2 separate regions of the Homo sapiens genome follow, and region 1 is linked to region 2. Evidence: promoter capture Hi-C in human tissues and cell types (Jung and others, 2019). All regions are on one chromosome and are shown on one strand. Each heading gives the region's core, a stretch centred on a gene start or on the middle of the fragment in contact. The rest is flanking DNA. Distances are from core to core; before and after follow the strand shown. Region 1 overlaps CCDC125 (coiled-coil domain containing 125). Region 2 holds the start of SLC30A5 (solute carrier family 30 member 5).

Region 1 (2,700 bases), core at 103-2,602, 200 kb before region 2:
AGGAGAATCGCTTGAATCCGGGAGGCGGAGGTTGCAGTGAGCCGAGATTACACCACTGCACTCCAGCCTAGGCAACAAGAGTGAAACTCCATCTCCAAGAAAAAAAAAAAAAGTACTTGGCATGATATTTGAAGCTACCTAAAGTCATTTGCCTAAGTTCATAATTAATATTCCTAAAATTTATATGTTCTCATCTATACATGTCCCTAAAATTACTATATAATAGAAGGAAAATGTACATTTATGCTTAAAATCACTAGGATCAGCAACACTGATTAATGGAGAGATAAGCATGGAATGTATTTGAACAGCAGCAAGGCACAGTGAAAGGAACCTTTGTCCCAGCCAGACCTAGGTTTGCATCTTTGCTCCACCATTTACTAGCTGTGTGGCTTTGGACGGGGTAGGTCTTAGTTTTCCTACTATATTAAGTGGAGGGTAATAACTACCTTGGATGATTGTTGTGAGGAAATAGACATAAAATGTTTAGCACAGCACCATGAACATGCCAGACATTAATTCAAATGATAGCTGCCATTATATTTGGTCTTTACTTACAAATACAGTAGTACATGGACCATAATTCTAAAATGTTTTACCTTTATTGAAGGTATGGAATTTAAAGTCCTTAGGTGTGGCAAACCACCATGGCACACATTTACCTAGGTAACAAACCTGCATCCTGCACCTGTATCCTAGAACTTAAAATAGAATAAAATAGGACAAAATTAAATTTAAAAAAATTAAAGTGTTTGGGTTTTTTTTTTTTTTTGAGACGGATTCTTGCTCTGTCGCCCAGGCTGGAATGTAGTGGTGCAATCTCGGCTCACTGCAACCTCCACCTCCTGGTTCAAGTGATTCTCTGCCTCAGGCTCCTGAGTAGCTGGGATTACAGGCGCCTGCCACCACTCCCAGTTAATTTTTGTATTTTTAGTAGAGACGGGGTTTCACTATGTTGGCCAGGCTGGTCTTGAACTCCTGACCTCGTGATCCACCCGCCTTGGCCCCCCAAAGTGCTGGGATTACAGGCGTGAGCCACTGAGCCCAGCCAAAATAAAATCTTTAAAGTATATAGGAAAGCCAACATTTGGACAGTAGCCATTCATTAAGAAAAGCATGAGGGGGCAATGGGTTACACCTGTAATCTCAGCACTTTGGGAGGCTGAGGTGGGAGAATCACTTGAGCCTAAGACGTCACAGTTACAGTGAGCCGTGTTCACATCACTGCACTCTAGCCTGGGTGACAGAGTGAGAGACCCTGTCTCCAAAACAAAAAGAAAGACCGGGCGCAGTGGCTCATGCCTGTAAACCAGCACTTTGGGAGGCCGAGGCGGGTGGATTACCTGAGCTCAGGAGTTCGAGACCAGCCTGGGCAACACAGTGAAACCCCATCTCTACTAAAATACAAAAAATTAGCCAGGCGTGGCAACATGCGCCTATAGTCCCAGCTACTCGAGAGGCAGAGGCAGGAGAATTGCTTGAACCCAGGAGGCGGAGCTTGCAGTGAGCCGAGATCACGACACTGCACTCCAGCCTGGGCGACAGAGCGAGACTCCATCAAAAGAAAAAAAAAAAAGAAGAAGAAGAAAAAAATAGAAGAAAAGAAAAACATGAGATTACATTGATCAAAGTCAAGGTCATCTATAAGACGTATTTGAAAGGTCGTATTCATCATTATTTTCAGTGGTGTGGTCTGGAATGGCCCAAAGCTGAGTTGAAATGCAGCCTTTGGTATCCTCTTATCTTTCATGCTGGGCCCTTTGTCCCAGGACTTGAGCAGGACACACACACAGGGCCTGCATGGGGTAGTGAGGTCCAGGGGTTAGGTTAGCAGGCAGTTGACAGGCACCACAAGGGAAACTGATAATCTGGATCAGAGTAAGTTGCTACTGCAGAAATAGCAAGCATTAATTAGCGTAATCAGATAAACTAGATCAGACCACAGGCAATAAACCAGTGCTAGGCAGTGAGATTGCATATGTTAATTTGATTCCCCATTCAGCAAGAATTGTTCTGGTTTTGCCTCTGACACCTCCCAAACTGTCTTTCAAAATCAGTTGGAAATTTTGCAGAAGAGTAAAGAAGAAGCTTACGTGATGGCAGATGCTTTCAGAATTGCATTTGAGCAACAATTAATGAGAAAAAATGACCAGGCACTACAATTGACACAAATGGATAAAATGCATAAAAAAGCAACAAAATGGATGAATTGGAAGCACCTTAAAGAGGATGGTAACTATGAATTATAATGGCAATAAGTGGGTGTAATTTTAGTTGTTTTGTTTATAATCCAAGTTGATGAAGCACACTTAATCCAATGTGGGCAAAAATAATTGAAACTTCACATATGGTTGTGGTTTACTTAAAAACTTAGCAACTATGGAAAAAAAGGAGTCATTGGATATTACATGTGCAGGTGAACTACTGGAATCCATAAACCATAACATAACAGGAATATTTATTTTCTAGTACTCTTCTGTTTCATTTAAATAAGACCATGTTTAGTGAAAAAACTTTACAATAAAAGTGCTAGGTGATTAAAAGGAAACTGCCAAGAAGGAAGTAATGTGAAAAATGTCACTTAAACATGACATTAAATGTATCTATCTAATTAAACTTTATTGAAATGTATGCTTTTGAGAAGGAAATTGAGGAATAGAGGAAAAACCTTAAGTTGGACAAATTAATAAAATATTCTTA
Region 2 (2,700 bases), core at 1-2,500:
GCGCCATTGCACTCCAGCCTGGGAACAAGAGCGAAACTCCGTCTCAAAAAAAAAAAAAAAAAAAAAAGTTACGTTATAATGCTATTACTACAGTTCTAAAGAATTTATCACATTTATCACTTTCTTTAAATATCAAAGAAGTATTTATTCCAGAATGGGAAGAACTCGTTAAAAATGGAGGCAAAGAACACCAGTTCCAGCCAAATTGCAGGGCTGTATTTTGTGCATTTTCGACACTATCTCAGAACTTAGGAAGGATACACTAGAAAGTGGTCGCTGCACCTGTTGGTCCCTTACTTTTCGGGTTGGTGGGAGAATTGAAGAGAGGAAGTGGGAATTTTCACTTTTTACTCTATGAATTGCTTTGCTGTTTAGATTTTTTTTTGACAACGAGGACACATTTCTTATTTAAGAACAAAATAAAAAAAGAAAACGGGGCTGGACCCTCGATGTGCTCAGTTAATCTGAACATCCAAGTTCCCCTGAACATCCAAGTTCACGTATGTACTTTGGTTTCGTCGCCTGAAGAGAGCTGATGGTGACACCTTCCCCTAATTTATGCAGGGAAACGTCAGAAAGGTTAAGTAGTCGCCAGACTATTTCAGGGAGAAACAGCCAAGAGAAAGGCTTCTCACAGATCAGAAAAACCTCTCACGTGAACTGGCGGGCAGTTCTAAGACTGACTGTCTGCCTTGTAACCCAGAAATTCAAGCAGAAGCTTTTTGGCTTTAGCGCCTTCCTTCTGCAGCAGGCACCCGAAGAGCCCGGGGAGCCCGGAGGCAGCCTGCGCGCAGGGAGGCAGGCAGGGGGAGAGGGCGCGCCGACCCCGGGACGTCCCGGGCTGTCAGCGGAGACCGGAGGGAGGCCGGAGAAAGTGCATCCTGAGCGACCCGGCCGGTCGCTGCCTTCCGGATCGGTCCCTTACCGAGCGCTGGGTACGTCCACCGGCCCAAGGCCGCCGCCGCCGCCGGGGCCGGCCAGCACGTCCCCGCCGTATTTCTCCTCCATCCCGGGGCTCACGAGCCGCCGCCGCTGCCCCTGTCGCGGGGTCTCCTCATGTCTCGCCGCTGCCGCGGAACAGCGGGTGCAGGCGCGTCACTCCCCCATGGCAGAGACCCCGTCGGGCTCCTGCAGGCCGGGCCGCCACTGCCGCCGTCGCCGGCTCCGGCTCACTAGCACACACGCGTCGGGACTAGGCCGCGATCAGTTCCGGCGGCGCCAGGTTCCCGGGAAGCAGCGGCGGTAGGGACGTTGCCAAGCCACGTCATCAGGCCCAGCAACCCTCACTCCCGGGGGAGTGCCCAGCCTTGCGTCTGCGCAAGCAGAACACTCGCCTTTCCTCGTCCCTTAGGCTCCTCCCGCCACGTTGTGTCGCATTGAAGCTCCGCCTCCTATCAGCCTCTCCGGGTGGCGCTCCCTGTGCACTTACCTGTCCCTACAGTGCCACCTATGGGCCGTCAGAAGTACAGCGGATTCCTGTAGGGCAGAGGGGGAGGGCGTGGAAAATGTACAGCGTGTGTGATTAAACAAAGCTCACCAATCTTTTCCTCTGCGTTAGGGATTCTTTTTTTTTTTGTTTTGAGATGGAGTTTCGCTCCTGTTGCCCAGGCTGGAGTGCAATGGCGCGATCTCGGCTCACGGCAACTTCCACCTCCCAGGTTCAAGCGATTCTCCTGCCTCAGTCTCCCAAGTAGCTGGGATTACAGGCATGTGCCACCACACCTGGCTAATTTTGTATTTTTAGTAGAGACGGGGTTTCTCCATGTTGGTCAGGCTGGTCTCGAACTCCTGACCTCAGGTGATCCACCCACCTCGGCCTCCCAAAGTGCTGCGATTACAGGAGTGAGCCACCGCACTCGGCCTAGAGATTCTTAATCTAGGTTAACATACCCTCTGCCTCTAAGTTTTTGTGAGTATGGATCATTTTTGTGATGAGAAGGCCCGAAGTCTTAAAAGTTCACGTGCCCTTCCCCCAACCAGAGATAACTATTTTTGAAGCTGTAGAGAATCAATTACAAATAGTGGTACGGCCATTTCTTTTGAACAATGCCTTTGATGGACTTTGGAGAGGAGAAACTAGTATTGACCAAAATTTGCCTCCTCAGCAAACTATCCCAGGGCAATTTTCTAGGAGTGACCACGTGCGAAACTTCATGGCCTTCTCTCCTACTCCTAAGGGAACCTAAAGGCAATTTCCAGATTTCTAAAGAAACATTCTTATCCTGGGCAACATGGCAAAACCCTGTCTCTATCAAAAATACAAAAACAATTAGCCAGGCGTGGCATATGCCTGTGGTCCCAGCCACTCAGGAGGGAGAGGCGGAAGGATCGCTTGAACGTGGGAGGTCAAGGTTGCAATAAGGCATGATCATGCTACTGTGCTCCAGCCTGGGCAACAGAGCAAGACCGTCTCTGGAAAAAAAAAAAAAAAGAAAGAAAAAGAAAGGATTCTTCTTTGCCACAGGGAGCCTGGGGTCATCTATCAAATAAAGTAACGGAGGAAGGTGACTGCTTTTGTGGCTTTTTGTGTGGGGCCTGGAGTACTGGTAACCGTTGTTGCTAGAGGCCCTGGAATCCAACTGTGTGAGGACAGAACATAGGAGAAGGAAGAGGATTTTGTTAAGTGTTGCTGCAAACTGTTTTGTCTCCTTTTTGAAAAGGAAAGCGTTGATTTTCTTTAAATTCTGCCTGTGAAACTGT

The links. Contacts are between HindIII fragments. The study calls those that stand out against the background at their distance.
Region 1: a contact is called between a fragment that was not itself captured here and the fragment with the promoter of SLC30A5 in region 2, in 1 of the 25 tissues and cell types used here (lymphoblastoid cells).

What each region holds. Positions count from the first base shown.
Region 1 is chr5:69,291,720-69,294,419 of GRCh38, reverse strand. CCDC125 (coiled-coil domain containing 125) reads left to right here. Exons shown (of 12, transcript NM_176816.5): 10 at 2,058-2,232. Among named protein-coding and RNA genes, the nearest start is that of CCDC125, 40 kb to the left of the region's middle. The HindIII fragment of the contact is 3,532 bases long and covers 1-2,700 here.
Region 2 is chr5:69,092,564-69,095,263 of GRCh38, reverse strand. SLC30A5 (solute carrier family 30 member 5) reads right to left here and starts at 1,250. Exons shown (of 16, transcript NM_022902.5): 1 at 926-1,250. The coding sequence starts at 1,008. RefSeq lists silencers at 468-762, 808-1,097, 1,428-1,537 and an enhancer at 1,228-1,327. The HindIII fragment of the contact is 15,344 bases long and covers 1-2,700 here.